Regions from separate parts of the Homo sapiens genome. Here regions 1, 2 and 4 are each linked to region 3. Evidence: promoter capture Hi-C in 16 types of primary human blood cells and fetal thymus (Javierre and others, 2016). All regions are on one chromosome and are shown on one strand. Each heading gives the region's core, a stretch centred on a gene start or on the middle of the fragment in contact. The rest is flanking DNA. Distances are from core to core; before and after follow the strand shown. Region 1 has its middle 33 kb from the start of OR6Y1. Region 2 overlaps LOC107985213 (a long non-coding RNA gene). Region 3 holds the start of CD1C (CD1c molecule). Region 4 has its middle 30 kb from the start of OR10R2.

The links. Contacts are between HindIII fragments. The CHiCAGO score rates a contact against its expected background, and 5 or more counts as called.
Region 1: a contact is called between a fragment that was not itself captured here and the fragment with the promoter of CD1C in region 3, in 1 of 17 cell types (fetal thymus). The highest score is 5.8, in fetal thymus.
Region 2: a contact is called between a fragment that was not itself captured here and the fragment with the promoter of CD1C in region 3, in 2 of 17 cell types (fetal thymus and M1 macrophages). The highest score is 12.8, in fetal thymus.
Region 4: a contact is called between a fragment that was not itself captured here and the fragment with the promoter of CD1C in region 3, in 1 of 17 cell types (fetal thymus). The highest score is 5.1, in fetal thymus.

What each region holds. Positions count from the first base shown.
Region 1 is chr1:158,518,726-158,523,327 of GRCh38, forward strand. No RefSeq gene overlaps it. Among named protein-coding and RNA genes, the nearest start is that of OR6Y1, 33 kb to the right of the region's middle. The HindIII fragment of the contact is 185 bases long and covers 3,211-3,395 here.
Region 2 is chr1:158,481,692-158,486,257 of GRCh38, forward strand. All of the region lies in intron 2 of LOC107985213 (a long non-coding RNA gene), which reads right to left. Among named protein-coding and RNA genes, the nearest start is that of OR10R2, 12 kb to the left of the region's middle. The HindIII fragment of the contact is 1,988 bases long and covers 1,622-3,609 here.
Region 3 is chr1:158,287,105-158,291,518 of GRCh38, forward strand. CD1C (CD1c molecule) reads left to right here and starts at 2,819. Exons shown (of 6, transcript NM_001765.3): 1 at 2,819-3,021; 2 at 4,030-4,296. The coding sequence starts at 2,961. It also overlaps a transcript of CD1B not described here. The HindIII fragment of the contact is 9,220 bases long and covers 1-4,414 here.
Region 4 is chr1:158,499,461-158,504,339 of GRCh38, forward strand. No RefSeq gene overlaps it. Among named protein-coding and RNA genes, the nearest start is that of OR10R2, 30 kb to the left of the region's middle. The HindIII fragment of the contact is 6,418 bases long and covers 1-4,774 here.

The DNA.
Region 1 (4,602 bases), core at 2,053-4,552, 230 kb after region 3:
AGCTTTTATAGGTAGGAAAAGCAGCCTTAGTATAGATATTGGAAAATAAAGGAGAGAAATTGACTGACTAATAGCAATTTAATAAATAAATAAAGCTGCCTTTAAGAGTCTATCAATTATTTACTCTTTCATCAACTATATATTGAGTTTGACGATGGAAGTTACAACAATGAAAGATCCATTTTTTCTGCTTTCAAAATATTGAATCTACTACTTACTTCCCCCAAATCCTCACTCAGGTAAGAGAGTAGTTTTCTTCTTTCTTTTTTGTTGCATACCTTATTATTATTCCTACTGAACCAGTAGTAACACAATATACGAAATACATTCTCTTGGGCATAAGGTCAGTATATAGGTGGGAATCCCATAGGGCTAAAAAGAAAAACAATCTAGGATTTCTGGATGTGCTCTGAAGTGGCACCTTCTAAGCTGCAGTATTTGTTCAACAGTGTTTTTCCAACAAAAAAGAGGATGAGCTCACCTGAGAAGCATCCTGAAGGGAAACACCGTTGCACTAGGCAGAGATCAGGAGACCTAGAAATTCTTCTAACACAATCTGTGACTGTGTACTTGTTTCTTTTATTAAGTAAAAACTGTTGAAAATTCTATTTGTACACATTTTAAGTAATGCTTTTTTTCTTTTTCTGTGGCCTCCTTTTCTACTTATTTTACAATTAAAATATTCAAAAATATGTAAAAGGCATTGAGTAAGTTAATGAACATCAGTAAGGTAGAGAATCCTATCAAGATGGATTAATATAAATTGTACTTAACTTTCTACATTAAAAAGCTAAAAGTTAGAAAAATATGTGACATAGCAGTTTGTAGACATTAGACAAGAGACAGAATAAGACTGTTATTCTTGAGAAAAGAGAAATAAATGATTTCCACATGTTATGACTTAAAAAGTATTTGAAGAGTACAAAGCAAAGAAATGTGGATCCTGTAACAGACTCTAGACAATCCTAATTTTAGTTCTAAAGAAAAACTGAAGATGGAAATGGGAGTTAAGAGAGTGAAAGAGAAAAAACAGCCCATGATTAACTTCAGCTGGAATTATTCCAACACTTATGTCTCAGTATTATCCAGTTGAACATAAGTAATTCCATAGGACTTTAGTACTGGACATTGTGTGACCATGATGGAGTGAGAAAAAATATGTTAAAGTATTTTAAATAGAAATTTATATGCTTCTTATATTTAAAAATATAATAACACCAAGATAATACTGGATAATACTGAGACATAACTGATGGAATAATACAAGCTCTATATGTGTATATACATGTATGTATATTTATGTGTTTATATATAGAAAGAGAGAGAAAAAGAGAGAGAGGCAGCAGAGGACACCAAAATATATCAAGTAGTCTTACTGAATTAAGGATTAGATTAGATAAAGATTATAGAGAAGACTAGATTACATAGAGTATTAAGGAGACTAGATTAGATAAAGATTAGAGTATAGAGAAGACAAAGGGGCCATTTCAAGACAGATAACTAAAGAGAAGGGATTAGCACACACATAGGGAGGTCTAATAGCTGCAAAGGGATCTCCTCAAATCTTTGGAAGAGTGCTAATTCGTACATTTGTTAGAGTAAACTTCTTGTAGAAGATGAACAACTACTGGAAGCAATAGACTAAACAAGTCCTAGAGTTCACACAAAGAAGAGTTTATATTCCCAACAGCCATCAAGTATAATTAATAGAAATAAAAAATATTATCTGAATTTTAAAAATACATTAAGCAGGATTAGCTGCAGACACTGCCAAAGAAAAGGTCAATTAACTTAAACACATAGCCAACAAAACAACCTGTAATTATAGCAAAACTTCAAAAACCCCAAATAACGACAACAACAACAAAACAAAAACAGAGGCTTGATGACTACGGTAAAGTGCCAAGCTGTCAAATATTCATGTAATTGAGATCCCTTATAAACCCCCAAACCCAAAAATGTCAGAAATTTCAAGCAGAATAAAAACCAAAATTATGCTAGAACATATAAGAATATAAGAATTCAATTATTAAAAACTAATGATAAAAAGAAAATTTTAAAAATAGTGAGAGACAAAAGGAGAGAAAGATGGTGAAACAGAAAGCCCACTGCTTACATTCCTTGACAGCAGCAATAAGTTCACAGCCATCAATGGGAAAATACCTCTTTGTGGGAGCCTTGAGATTTAGATAGGAGATTGTGAAACCCTAGTGAAGATCAAGATGTAGGAAAGCCATTTTGAGGGGGCAGACCTGCCAACAGTGGTCTCAGCTCTAGACTTAGCAATGGCCTTGTTTTATTGTGGACTTGGATACAGCCTTATTTTGCCATCAGTCAAGGAGCCCAGGAGGAGTCACATATACTAGTGCTTCAGAAAACAAGCTTGTTGACCTCGGTCCCAGGTGTGGAACTTGAAATGGCTCTGAAACTCAACTCCAGGCATTAATAGCTGTGGTCTGAGAGTAGGCTTGTCCATTCAAGAACCAAGAGAAGGACGAGCTTGTCTATGACCCTCAGAGGCAGACCTGCTGCCATCAGTCTCACAGAGGATCCTGACACAGCCTTGTAACTTGGATTCATCCCCTCTCAGGTGTGGTCTGAGGGCAGTTTTGCCTGACCAGGGACCAAATGGGGGATACACCAAACCTTGACCTCAGAGGCAGGCCTGCAGATCTTTGTCTTTACTGCAGCCCTGTGACTTATATTCATCTCCTCTCAACTGTAGGCCAGGACAAGTACTGCCTGCAAAGGGACCTACCCAGTCACTTAATGGGAGCTCTCCCAAAGACCTGGAGGAAACCATACCCATCCACAAACCTAGTAACAGGCCTACCATCTGTGGACTCTGAAATGGATCCTCATTCTAGCACCAACCCTACTGCCCAATGTACTGGAGGTAATTCAGTCCACCCGGGGGGAACCAGACAGAATCCATACCCACTGGAGGCCCTGGTAACAGGTCTATTAAGCACAGATCCCATTGTAGATGAAGAGGCAGCCACATGATCTAGCTCGAAACCCACTTTACTAGGATCCTGGGGGCAATCTCACCAGCATAGAGGCTCAACAGGAGAAAGCTTTTATCTGCCAAAAGCAGTGTTTAAATGCCAGAAAAGATGTTTATTCAGACATCAATGCGCAGACATCAATGCAATCTATACAGATAATGAAGAATTAGGCAAATGTGACACCACCAAAAGAAACTAGTAAAGCTTCAGTAGTAAATCACAAAGAAATAGAGATCTAGGAATTGCCTGAGAAAGAATTCAAAATAACCATCTTAAGGATCTTGAAGAAATGCAAGGAAATGCACATAGAAAATGAATTGAAATTAGAAAAACAATAATAAACTACCGGTGTCTCAGAAGGAAAAAGAAGCAAATAAAGAGGCATAAAGCTTATTTAAAGAAATACTGGCTGAAAACTTCCAAAATCATGGGAGAGACATAGACTCAATACAGTTTCATGGAAATCAAAATGTCCAAACAATATCAACCCCAACAGTAACACTCTGAAGCACATTATAATCAACTTATTATAAGTCAAACACAAAAAGAGACTTTTGAAAGCAGCAGTAAAAAGAAACTTGTCACCTAAAAGGGAACCCCTTTAAGGATATCAGCAGACTTGGCAAAAACAAAACAAAACCTAAAAAAAAAAATTTTATATGCCCGGATGGTGTGGGATGATATAGCCAAAGAGCAGAAAGAAAAAAATAAAAACTGCCCAAGAATACTATACGTAAAAAATCTCTCTCAGAAATGAAGCAGAAATAAAGACATACTCAGACAAAGGTAACACAGGAATGGAAAACCAAACATTGCATGTTCTCACTCATAAGTAGGAGTTGAACAATGAGGATACATGGACACAGGGAGGGGAACAACACACACCACGGCCCGTGTGGGGTTGGGGGGCAAGGGGAGGGAGGGAGAGCATTAGGACAAATAGCTAATGCATGCAGGGCTTAAAATTTAGATGACGGGTTGGTAGGTGCAGCAAACCACCATGGCACACATATACTTATGTAACAAACCTACACATTCTGCACTTGTATCCCGGAACTTAAAGTAAAATGTAAAAAAAAAAAAAAAAAAAAAAAAAAATACTAGAGTTCTTCAAGTTGTAACAAAAAGATGTTAAAGCCAGGTGCCGTGGCTCATGCCTGTAATCCCATCACTTAGGGAAGCCAAGGTGGGAGGATCATTTGACCTCAGGAGTGTAAGACCAGCCTGTGTAACATAGCGACATCACATCTCTAAAATAAAGAAATAGATAACATGAAACATTTTTAAGAAGTTAATAGTTAAAAAAGCCACTAGTAAAAGTAAATAGTCAAATCTGGAATAATCTAATACTGTAATGGCACTGTGTAAATCATTTTAAATTCTATTATAAAAGCTTAAAACACAGAAATATTGAAAATAACTATATCTATTCTAATTTGGCAATGAATACACAATCTAGAAAGATGTGAAGTGTGACATGAATAACATAAAATGTGGGCAGAGTGAAGTAAAAGTGTAGAGTTTTTGTATGCAATTTCAGTTGTTAGCAGCTTAAATTAGAATGTTATAATTATAAGATGTTTTATATAAGCCC
Region 2 (4,566 bases), core at 1,366-3,865, 190 kb after region 3:
AGTAACTGCAGATTTCTACATTCAGATTTCTCAGGTGAGCTCAGATAGCAATCCACTGTGTTCCTTTATCTCCAGCAGATATATATCAATATCTTGAAGCAGTTTTCTACTCTTGGGGAGAGATAAAACATTAAGAAAGTCAAGAGCTTCCTCCAAAGATTATATTTCCACCCCTTTTTTCTCAAAATTTTTATTTTTTAAGAGCAGTTCACATATTTTATTCTCTCAGCTTTTGTGCCTCAACTGAAACTAAGAAAAACTGCCTTTTATGACATTGCTGCATGTTTTTCCTATAGTTTAAGGTGTTATGATGGTGTTTATTGGTAAATATTTAGTTCATAAAGTTACCATCTGTATACAGAGTCAAGTAGTTGGCCTGACCAGTGGTATAGCCGTAAATAGTCACCTTAATCACTCTAGATCACATTTTGCAGCACATGGTTTTTTGAGAATCTGTTGAAAGCTATGTATCTAATGCATGAAACTCTCCTCATGCACATATACAGGAAAAAAAAAACTTGCTTACAATCTGAGGAGTTTACATAGTATACAAAGTCCATCCCTAAATCCAATTCATGGGAGTACTTGTTCATGGCCAAAGTCATATAATCTATTTAAATTTGCTTTCATCATTTCACCTTTTCTTTTTTACTTTTAACAATTTGTTGTAACTTTTTTTTACCTGATTGAAAGGTTATTTATATCATCATGTCACAGAGTTTACATGTTTTATAATTTTATTATAACAGCAGGATAGATTAATAGACATCCCTGCTGCTATCTTCTAGATCCCTTTAATGGATTTAATTTCCTTTTTAATATCAAATTTCAGAAAAATTTACCGCAAGGTAGGCAGAGAAACTATCCTGGTCAAGATAGCATATTCAATTAACTAGAGTATTGCTATTTTATGTCACATTCGTTAAAAATTTAGGAGAAGGTACTGTGCAGTCTAACATTTGAGGTTTTTAAATACAGAATATGTATACATTAGGAAAACTAAATTCTATACTGTGAAAAGAAATGAAAAGTAAGCAGGAAGTTTCAGAAATAAACTACACTTAACATCTTGATCAACTTTCATGAAAAGTAGCTGATTTTTGTGTCCAACACTAATGTATAGAATATTTTCTGCAGCATGCCGACATGAATGTGATTCAAAACATTTTTTTCTATCTTACTATATGGCTCTAGTTTCCTACCATCCTGGCATATAGGTCTCTTGAATTCCTTTTTTTATTAGTAGAAACAAGAAAGAGTTAAAATTATGTTTAAAAGATATTATAATAATAAACAGTAGAATAATACTTCTACAGGAAAATAATTTGCAGTGACAAAATGGCCTTGTTTGCCATCATCATACTATAGCCATCATTAATTAAAAAGGCAGTAGAAGATAAACATAAATTTGCCATTCTGTGCACCACATTTCTTTACTTACAGCTTATAAAGTGGGATCCTATGGAGAATGGTCCTGTACCGGCCTAAGAATCAAAAAAGGTCTTATTTGAAAAGATTATCTCCTTCTTTGTCCAATGTCTACCATCAAAGTTTTTTTTATTTTCACCTGTTTCATGAAGTATTACCTGATTTCCATTCTTCAAAACACCATAGCATTGTAAGCTTTACTTATACTTCTTACTGAGCTCTGACATATTGAGCTGATTATGTACATATCTTATTTTCTCTAATGGACAATCAACAACGTGAAAGGAAGTAATTTATTATACCGATACATTAACTCCTCCTAAATGTCTTTTATATCCCTGACATTCAGGAGATAACTAATACATGTCTCTTAACTTTAATTGAATAAATGACTTCTTGGTCTAGCTAAGAAAAACATCTGAAACTACATGTGAAAGTGTAGCAATATTTATGTCCCCCATAACAGTAATTAAAAATAACAATGACAATGATAATTTATTTTGCTCATTAATCTCTTAAATGGGAGAGGGCTTATAAGATTGGCTTGTCTTAACTCCATACAATGTCAACTGAGCTGCTCAACTAGAATTGAGGGACCCACTTCCATTTGGCTCATTTACACGGCTGGCAAAATGATGCTGATTTGTAGTGGAGCTGAGTCAGGGCTATAGGTTGTGAGAGTCAGTATCTCTCCATGTGGCCCTTTTCATGGGGTTCTATAAACTTTCTCACAACATCATGACTGGTTTCAAAGACTAAACATTCCAAGAAACAGAAAGAGGAAGCTGCTAGTCTTTTAAGGCATAATACCAGCAGGTTGTCTGCTCCTGACACCCAAAAAGACAATGATGTGATGGGCATAGGAATAGCAATGGACATTCCCTTGTGAAAAAGGAGGAAATTAGACACATCACAGTCATTGGTCCATAGAAATTCTGAAATTCATCTGGACACTGTTGCCAGTCCTATTTTCTGGGAATGAATTCCATGACTCTTAGATCTAACCTGTGATGCCATTTCCCCACTTTCTGATCATCCTTTTTTATCTGCAAGACATAGCTACAATTTGCAGACATGTCATTTCTTAGTCTGATACCTCCATGGAAGAAGTTGAGGGTCCAAAGGTCTATTCATTTCTGTTTGCTCTGTAGCCTTTAGCACATGTTGATAGAATGCCTTTTTAAAACTTGGTGAGTTTCTTATGTTTCAGTTTATAAATTAATTCCATTAGATAAAAGTCACATCCATATTCATTTCTTTATTATGGGTCACTTGTGAGGTAGCAGTATTAATAACTGCTGTATGGCAATTCCCTTAAGATTCTTAAAAAGACTTATTGCTTAACTTTAAGGAGTCAGGCCCTTAGGATATTTATAAATCTTGTTGGGTATAGCCTAAAATATTTCTGAGTTCTAACAAAAAGTATTACAGCTACATTCTTAAGAGGTTTACCCTGAGGCATTGGTTTCCTGATAGCACCTTGGATTTGATTTCTTCCTTGAAGCCATTTTGTACCTTGAGAGTCTTTGTTGAGAGAGACTGTGCATGAGAAACATCTTTATTTGCAAACCCAACAAGTTTTGTTTCTTTCTGTTTCCTCTAAATTCTCAGAAACTTAAGAAACTTTAAAAAATTATGTACTTTTAAATTGACAAATAGTCATTGTTCATATTCCTTAGGTGCATAGTAATATTCTGATATAAATAATGTTATAGGGATCAGATCAAGGTAATTAGCATATCATCATCTCAAACATTTATCATTTCTTCATGTTGGGAATGTTCAACACCCTCCTTCTGGCAATTTGAATCTATACATTACTGTTAACTATAGTCATCCTACAGTAGCAAAGAACACTGTAACTTATTCCTTTATCTAGCTGTAATTTTGTATCCTTTAGCAAATCTCCACCTATCCTTCCCTTTTCTCTACTATTCCCTTCCTCTAGTATCCTGCTGTCTACTCTCTTTTCATATTTTATCATTGGTTGGAATTTTCTATAGTCTTCCTAGAAATTTACCCAGGAAGATAATGAGATTACTAAATAGTCTATTTTCCAGGCTGTAGCATGTGGTCCTGCTGCCAAACTTTAGAGCAATGGATAATAAGTATCCATGTTTTACCTAAGTATGATAACAGTTTCCTCTCTGTCCTTCAAATATTTTTCTCTCTGTGCTTCAAAGCTTTACCAAGAGTTGCCTTATGATCCTTTCACCTTTTAGTAAGAGACTCCTTAAGTCCTTATGGATTATTTATACCACCAATTGCAAAATTAATGCCAAATGTTTTAAATGTTGATTATAACAGCACCCTGCCTTTAGATACCAAATTCTGTTCTCATTATTTACTGCTGCATAATCAACTCTCTACAACTTTAGTTGCTTAAATGAGCTGTAATTATTTTGCACACAAGTCTGCAATTTTGGCAGGGCTCAGTGGGGACAGCTGGAATTTGTTCTTTGTCCCAGCAGGTTGGATGATTCAATTGGGGCTGAAGGATTTACTTTCAAGATTGCTCACTTATGTGCCTGTTTTATTCGTGTTAGCTATTGGTTGTTTGCTCAGCTGGGGCTATTGGCCAGGAGCCTTGGTTTTTTACCATATAGATTCTCCAAGGGCTGTTTGGGCTTCCTCAAAACATGGTTACTAGGGTACAAAAGTAGATGATTCAACACTCCATAAGTAGCAGCTACAAGACTTTAGAGACTAGGGTTAATAAACGGATACAGTCTTACATTTACTATAATTTATTTGTCAAAGTAGTCACTCTTCCTATCTGGATTCAGGGGAAGGAGGAAGCCACCAAAAGTTCCTGTCTGGGTTAATCACTTGGGCTTTTCTCTTGTTTTCTCATTGCTGCAGCATCTTTTTTTAAAAAAAATTAATTTAATTTAAAGTTCTGGGATCCATGTGCAGGATGTGCAGGTTTGTTACATAGGTAAACATGTGTCATGGTGGTGTGCTGCACCTATCAACTCATCGCCTAGGTATTAAGCCCAGCTGCATTAGCTATTTATCCTGATGCTCTCCCTTCCCCTGCCCCTCAACCATAGGCCCCAGTATGTGTTATTTCCCTCCCTGTGTCCATGTATTCTCATTGTTCAGCTCTGACTTATAAGTGAGAACATGCGGGACATG
Region 3 (4,414 bases), core at 1,569-4,068:
AACACAAGGCAATCAGCTGGGTGGCTTAAACAACAGGAAGTTATTCTCTCACAGCTCTAGAGGCTAGAAGTTCAAAGTCTCCATCTGGAAGACTCAGTTTCTAGTGAAGGTTCTCTTCCTGGTTTATACAGACAACTGCCTTCTCACTATGAGCTCATATGGCCTTTCCATGGTGGGTGCACACACACACACACACACAGAGACAGAGAGCGACAGGGAGAGACAGAGAGACAGAGAAGGAAAGTGGAAGGGCACTCCAGTGTCTCTTCTTATAAGGACACTAAGCCTATTGGATCAGGGTCTTACCGTTTAGACATGAGATTGACATTACTTCTTAGAGGCCCCATTTCCAAATATAATCACACTGAGAGTTAGGGATTCAACATGTGATTTTTTTTTTCTTTGGGAGGGTACACAAACTTTCAGTCCATAACAATGAGAAGGCCACTCCATTTAGGGTCCAGTATGAGCAAGATCACTTGGATTACACACTTAAAGCAAATTATCTAGTGGCACTATCAGAAGTCAAGATTGACCATTAGATCCATCTATCTCATGTTATTTTCAACTTGTTTGCTTCTGAATTCAAGAGGGCAAAAAGGATGATACTTACTGGGTTTTATAATATTATCCAATATAGCTAGGTTATGTTGCAGTTATAAATAAACTTTAGAACTTGGAGGCTTAACACAATGAAGTTTATTTCTCATGCAGTTAAACTGCATGTAGATCAGGCTGCTCTTCTCCATCTCATAGTCTTGCCATTTAGAAATTTGACTGCCAAGTTGGTACCACAGGGTAAGATGATCAGATGTGATATTTTCAGTGGTCAGGACTGGAGCTGGCTAATGCTTCCAACACCACACATTCCATTGCCCAGAACTCAGTCCATGACCTTAACCCAACTATTAGGAAATAGGACAGTTGCATCTTTCCTGTAGGAACATGGAAAAAAATGTGAATAAACACATAATGTGGTATCTACTATTGTTTTCTAAAACCACAAACCAAGTATTTGCCATTAACAGCACAAGATGAGCAAAGATAACACCTAGTGCTTATGAATGATTTGGGTAGGATTTGAACTGGGTATTGCTCTTAAAGATATTATAGTTCATAGAAATTGCCACATATCTGTGGCCATGATAGGAAGAGCTCATTGAGAATGACTTCTGGCCTCACTATTAACGTTGACAAACCTAAGAAATAGTGTATATATCAAAGTATCATGTTGTACACAGTAAATACATAGAATAAATATAAATTTAAAACAGAAACAATGTTACAAATGGGATTTTCCTTTTTAAGGCACGGTCTTGCTCTGTTACCCAGGCTGGAGTACAGTGACATGAACATGGCTCACTACAGCCCTGACTTTCAGGGCTCAAAAGATCTTCCTGCCTCTGCCTCCCATTTAGCTGGGACTACAGGCATGTGCCACCACATTTGGCCAACTTTTTAATTTTTTTATCGAGATGAGGTCTAACTTTGTTGCCCAGGCTGGTCTCAAACTCCTGGGCTCAAGTGATCTTCCCACCTTGGTCTCCCAAAGTGCTGGGATTACAGGCATGAGTCATTGTGCCTAGCACAAATTCATGCCCAGATTTTAAGTGACTGCTCCAATGCATTCAGTGAATAATTAATATGATTTAAGAAACACTATAATAATAAATGTATTTCCTGGATCTCAAAAAAACTGTGTTCATGTATTTACACATATTAACCAGCCAGGGTCACTGATAAGTCACTGAATACTTCATATAAACTACTTAAATCAAACATTGACAAATGCTGCCCTTTTTATACAATGTGTTTTGGTCAGATCACAAAACAACTTAAATTTGGATTTTTGTGGTCTCCCCATGTATGAGTCCTCTTGAAAAGCTGCATGTTCTGACTATCACAATCGTATACCATTCCACACTGTACAGAATTTTCAGTATTTAGTTGAGATGCATGCTGTTCTTCCAGGACTTCAAATTATGAACTTCCCAGGGGGTTAGTCAGTCAAAATGCTGCTCTAGAGAATATAGTTCTAAGTAGATTTGTATCTGGGATTCTATACATTGAAATTAAAATCACAATGCATTTTAATTTTTTGTTTAAACATCTGCAGTTTAAAACTCTTTGATAGAAGAGATTACATTGTTAACCTCTGTGTGTTTATATGCCTAGTAAGACACTGGTATCAACCATGTACTATGTAATTTTTTAGTGAATGACTATACAGATTAAATGCAGTAGAAGGGCTTCTTTATATTTGTTATGGTCCTATGCATTCTGAATGGCTGCAATTTAATCTCTAAGGATAATGTAGAGTGGACTGTAGTTTATATAATTGTGCAGGGAAATCTTGGAAGATGTAAAAAGCAACGTCTCCAATTTATAAAAGAATCAGTGAGAATGAGGAAATAAGAAAGATGGGTGAAAAGAGGTGAAATTGGAAAGAGAAAACTTTGAGGACATTCAAAAGGGGGAAAGAAAGAATGGAGTGATGAGAAGAGGGGACACTATGGAGAGTGGAGGCAAAGTTAAGTGGAGAAACTGGAAGAACTGTGATCTATTAAAACAAGCAGGAACTGAAAAAATGACATGGTTTCTCCTTTTTATCTTACAAATGACATGCAAAATCCAGAGGGACAAAATGACCTTTCTTTCAATGCCATACACCACTTTGTCTAAGGCAGTTGAGGAAGGGAAGTAGATATAATGGAGCTTAGTGGCAGAGCAGCTGGAATCCTGAGAGAAGAGAATAACTTTAGTTCAGAGCAGGTGGGGAAATGAGAGATTGAGTAGGAGGACCAAGGTTGAGGGAAGCAGATCTTCTTAGTTGCTGTCAGCGGCTGATGGGGAAGATTGTTGGTAGAAGGAAGTCAGAATATAGGTACAGAGGGATAAGTTTGCTAAGAACAGAGATCAGCAAACAGCTTTTCTGAGAGAAAGAAACATCTGCAAATGACATGCTGTTTCTGCAGTTTCTGCTGCTAGCTCTTCTTCTCCCAGGTGGTGACAATGCAGACGGTAAGAACATCGCTGTCAGCTGCAAGGTTACATGTATCTGGGTAGAGTGTGCTGGGCTTTCCCGAGATGGATCAATAGAGATGCCAGAATGCTTGCCATCTGAGCATACCTGTCTCCAGGTCCAGTTTACTCTTTTGGAGGATGGTGGCAGAGCATGGGCTCTGTGTAAGGAAAATGTTATAGCTAAAGTAGTCATTAATGTTTCTCTGTGGTAACTGGTTCAATTTCCATTTCCTCTCCATTTTCCGTTAAAACAATCAGGGCCCAGGAAAATGATGTGGTTTCTCCTTTTTATGTTACAAATGACACGCAAGGTCCAGAGGGATGAAGCAACCTTTCAATGCCACGCACCACTTTGTCTAAGGCAGTTGAGGAAGGGAAGTAGATAAGATGGAGCTTAGTGGGAGAGCAGCTAAAATCCTAAGGGAAGAGAGTAACTTTAGTTCAGAGCAGATGGGGAAATGAGAGATTGAGTAGGAGGCCTAAGGTTAAGGGAAGCAGATTGTCTTAGTTGCTGTCAGTGGCTGATGGGGAAGATTGTCTGTTGGTAGAAGGAAGTCAGAATATAGATGTAGAGGGATAAGTTTGCTAAGAACAGAGATCAGCAAATGGCTTTTCTGAGAGAAGGAAACAACTGCAAATGACATGCTGTTTCTGTAGTTTCCGCTGCTAGTTCTTCTCCTCCCCGGTGGTGACAATGCAGATAGTATGAACATCTCTGTCAGCTGCAAGGTTACATGTATCTGGGTTGAGCATGATGGGCTTTCCCAAGATGGATCAATGAAGAAGCCAGAATGGTTGCCATTTGAGCATACCTCTCTCCAGGTCCAGTTTACTCTTTTAGAGGATGGTGGCAGAGCATGGGGCTCTGTGTAAGGAAAATGGTATAGCTAAAGTAGTCATTAATGTTTCTCTGTGGTAACTGGTTCACCTTCCATTTTCTCTCCATTTTCCTTGCCTCTCTTTTTTTTTTTTTCCTTACACTACTTGCCCTTCTTCCACCAAAAGCATCCCAGGAACACGTCTCCTTCCATGTCATCCAGATCTTCTCATTTGTCAACCAATCCTGGGCACGAGGTCAGGGCTCAGGATGGCTGGACGAGTTGCAGACTCATGGCTGGGACAGTGAATCAGGCACAATAATTTTCCTGCATAACTGGTCCAAGGGCAACTTCAGCAATGAAGAGTTGTCAGACCTAGAGTTGTTATTTCGTTTCTACCTCTTTGGATTAACTCGGGAGATTCAAGACCATGCAAGTCAAGATTACTCGAAATGTAAGTTCAATCATCTAAATTATGGGAGTTCTTTAGAATGTTCTATTTCAGGGAAATATTCTCTACTAATTTTTGGGCCATTTCCCATTATCCCATCCCACCATAAAATTCTGCATAG
Region 4 (4,879 bases), core at 316-2,815, 210 kb after region 3:
TCTCTAGTTAATTTTTGTAAATGGTGTGAAAAAATTTCAAGATTCTTTTCTATCCAAATGCATTATTATTGGAAAGAGTATTCTTCTACCATTAAATTGCCTTGAGGCTTTGTAGAAAATTAATTATACATATGTGTTTCTATTTCTGAGTGTTCTGTTTTGTTCCATTAATCTATTTGTTCATCTTTATACTAATACTAAAAGTATAGCTTAATAAACATTTCTTGAAATCAATGTAATGCCTTCTGGATTCTGCCCTCTTAGTCCTCATGGGAAGCCATCCATAAGGAAGAGCTATACTTTAGAACTTGCTGGAAAACCACTCTCTGAAGTACTCTGTGGGTGGGGGGCATCTATGGGAGGATGCTTCTGTTTGCAACCTTCTGGCAAAATACCTTTGATGATGGTACTGCCTGGGAAGTAGCACTACTGGGCGTCCTACTTGTTACTAGACTTCACACACACAGCATGTCCAGGCAGATGAAAGCAGCCAGAAATGGGAAGAGAACTCCGTTTTAACTTCAGTGTCCCTTCACGCCTTCTACAGAAGAGCTTAACATCATGTCTGCTGGTAAAGGAGAAACATTCCAGTAACACAATCAGGACAAGTAAAGGTAGATTTGGAGCTAAAAGGCAATTACATTCTTAATTTTCTTTCTTTTTAAAATTTTGACAGAATTTAGATTTATTCATCCCTATGAGCCCTAGAATTATGTTAATGTCAGGAGATGTTTATAAAATATACTCCACTAAAATTTTTCTGAAAATTCTAACAAGGACATTTGAAACAAGGGTTACATAGGTCAATTACAATTTCACTCAGAAAAAACAATAGCACTCTTGATTTATTCAGTAGTTGTTTTTTAATATAGCATGAGTCACAAATAAGCTAGTTTTTCAACTAGGTCAACACTGACTTTTTTTGTGTGTGATAAGAACATTTAACATGAATCCACCCCCTGATCAAAAGGTATTGGTAACTGTAATCATATATTATGCCATTCTTGCATTGCTATAAAGAAATACCTGAGATTGGGTAATTTATAAAGAAAAGTGGTTTTGTTGGCTCATGATTTGCAGAATTTACAGGAAGCATGGTGCTGGCATCCACTTGGCTTCTGGTGAAGGCTCAGGGAACTTTCAATCATGGTGGAAGGTGAAGCAGGAGCGGGCACATCACATGACCAGAACAGGAGAGAGAGAGTTGGGGGAAGGTGCTGCAAATTTTGAAATGGCAAGATCTTGTGAGAACTTACTCACTATCATAAAAATAGACCAAGTCATGCGAAGTTCACCCCCATGACCGAAACACCTCCCACCTTCAGCACTGGTGATTACAATTCAACGTAAGATTTGTGTGGGGACAAATATCCAAACTATATCAATATTTCTCCGGCTCCTCCCAAATCTATGTCCTTCTCACATTGCAAAATATATTTATGCCTTCCTAAGAGTCCTCCAAAGTTTTAACTTGTTCCAGTGTTAACTCACAAGTCCGAAGTCCAGAGTCTCATCTTTGACAAGGAAAGTCCCTTTCATTCATGAACCTATAAAATCAAAACCAAGTTATTTACTTCCAAGATACAATAGGGATACAGGTATTGGGTAAACGTTGCTATCCTAAAAGAAAGAAATTGGCCAAAAAAATAGGGGCTATAGGCCCCAAGCAAGTCCTAAAGCCAGGAGGGCAGTCATTAAATCTTAAAGCTCCAAAATAATATCCTTTGACTCCATATTCTACATCCAGGTCACACTGCTGCAAGCTCCTCAGAGAGGTGTCAGTCATGGCTCTCAAGGCTTAGGGCAGCTGTATCCCTATGGCTTTGCAGGGTTGAATACCCATGGCTGTTTCCACGGGTTGGTGTTGAGTGTTCTTGGCTTTTCCAGGTGCAGAGGGCAAGCTGACAGTGGATCTTCCTTTCTGGGGTCTGGAGGATGGCGGTCCCCTTCTCACAGCTCCACTAGGCAGTGCCCCAGTGGGAACTCTGGGGCGGGGGGCAAACCCACATTTCCCCTCTGCATTGCCATAGTAGAGGTTCCCTGTGGGGTTCCCCACCCCTGCAGCAGGCCTCTGTCTGGGCACTCAGGCTTTTCCATATGTCCTCTGAAATCTAGGCAGATGGTGCAAATTCTCATTCACTCTGAACTCTGTGTGCCTACAGGCTTAAAATCATGTGCAAATTGCCAAGGCTTACAGTGGCTTGAACTCTCCAAAGTAGCATGTTGAGCAGTACCTGGGCCCCTTTGAGCCCCAGTTGAAGCTGGAGCAGCAGGATGCAGGGAGCAGTGTCATGAAGCTGTGTGTGTGGCAGTAGGGATTCTGGGCCTTTAATGGAAGGGGCTGCCACAGAGGTCTCTGAGATGCCTTCAAGGCTTTTCCCCCATTGTCTTGACTATCAGCACTTGGCTCCTTCATAGGTATGCAAATTTCTTTTTTTTTCTTTTTTTTTTTTTTTTTTTGAGATGGAGTCTTGCTCTGTCACCCAGGCTGGAGTGCAGTGGCATGATCTCGGCTCACTGCAAGCTATGCCTCCCAGGTTCACGCCATTCTCCCGCCTCAGCCAGAGTAGCTGGGACTACAGGCGCCCACCACCGCACCCAGCTAATTTTTTTTTTGTATTTTTAGTAGAGATGGGGTTTCACCATGTTAGCCAGGACAGTCTCGATCTACTGACCTTGTGATCCGTCCACCTCAGCCTCCCAAAGTGCTGGGATTACAGGCGTGAGCCACCACGCCTGACCCACTTAAGTATGCAAATTTCTTTAGTAAAGTGGTTGTTCCACAACCTGCTTGAATTCTTCTCCCCTCAAGAGCTTTTTCTTCCTTTGCCACATTGCCAGGCTGCAGATTTCTCAAACTTTTATTCTCTACTTTCCTTTTAAATATAAGTTTCAGCTTTAAGGTATTCCTTTGTGCCCACATCTGAGTTAGGTTGTTAGAAGCAGCCAGGCCACATCTTGAATGCTTGGCTGCTTAGAAATTTCCTTCATCAGATACCCTAAATTATCATTTCAAAACTTTAACTTCCGCAGATCCCTAGGGCATGAACAGAAGGCAGCCAAGTTCTTTGCTAAGGCATATCAAAAGTGACCTTTACTTCAGTTCCCAGTATGTTCCTCATTTCCATCTGAGGCCTCCTCAGTCTGGACTTCACTGTCTATATCACACGTCAGCATTTGGGTTACAACCATTTTACCAGTCTCTAAGAAGTTCTAAACTAAACCTCAACTTCCGTCTTCTTTTGAGCCCTCAAACTCTTCCATTCTATGCCCATTACCCAGTTCCAAAGCTGCTTCTACACTTTCAGATATCTTTATTGTAATACCCCACTCCTCTGTACCAATTTCTTGTGTTATCCCATTCTTGCCTTGCTATAAAGAAATACCTGAGACTGGGTAATTTATAAAGAAAAGAGGTTTAATTGGCCCATGGTTCTGCAAACTTTACAGAAAGCATGGTGCTGGCAACTGCTTAGCTTCTGGTAAAGCCTCAAGGAGCTTTCAATCATGGCAAAAGGTAGTGGGAGCAGGCACATCACTTGGCCAGAGCAGGAGCAAGAGAGAGACAGAGTGGAAGGGAAAGTGCAACACTTTAAACTGACCATATCTTTTGAGAACTCACCTCACTATCACAAAGAAAGTACCAAGCTATGAGGGACTCATCCCCATGATCCAAACACCTCCCACCAGGTCCCACTTCCAGCATTGGGGATTTATAATTCAACATGAGATTTAGGTGGAAACAAATATTCAGACTATATCAAATCACAATGTTGTACAGTTGGTTTCTAGAATTTGTTTATCTTATATAACTGAAACTTATATTCAACAAAATGGAACTCACATTTTCTCCTCCCCTGCAGACTGGCAACCACTGTTCTACTCTCTGTTTCTATGAGTTTGACTAATACTGTATCAATTTCTATTCTGGGCATATATTCAAAATAATTAAAATTGGGATTTTAAAGTGATGTTAACAATCTCATGTTTATTATAACATTATTCACAATAGCCAAGAAAAAAATAAACTAAATGTCCATGAACAGATTAATGGATTAAGAAAATGTAGTATATACTTACAATGGAATATTATTGAATTTGATTAGTAATCTTAGGCAAGAAAGAACTTGTTGCTCTTTCTCTGTTCTTCACCATGTGAGGATATAATTAGACCCCAACTATCTGAAATCCTGAAGCAATCCCCCTTATTAGATGCTGAATCTGTGAGTAGTTCAGCTTGGACTTCCCTCCCTGCAGAACTGTGAGAAATAAATGTTTGTTGTTTAAGCCACCCAGTCTATGGTAATTTGTTATAGCAGCTGGAACTGATTAAGACAGATGGTTTTCATTTCTGTGGCATCAATGCTAATGGCTTCTCATTAGTTTCTGATTTAATTTATTTGAGACTTTTTTTTTAGCCTAGATAACTTTTTATCATTTTTTTATCTTTTCAAAAAACTAACTCTTGGTTTTACATTTTTTTCAATTGTTTTAATATTCCCTATTTCATTTATTTCTGCTTTAATCTTTATAATTATTTTAGGTATAAAGTTAGATGGTTTATTTGAGATCATTCTTTTTTAATGATGGTGTTTCTTGCTATAAACTTCTCTCTTACTGCTCTTTTTGCTGCATTCCATAAGATTTTTTATTTGCCCTGAGATACTTTCTAATTTCCCTTTGATTTCTGCTATGACTCAATGGTTGTTCAAGAGTATGTTGTTTAATTTCCACATATTTGTAAATTTTTCATTTTTTCCTACTGTTGGTTCCAAGCTTCATTCTATTGTGGTTGAAAAGATATTTTTATGTGTATCAGTCCATTTGCACATTGCTACAAAGAAATACCTGAGACTGAGTAATTTATAAAGACAAGAGG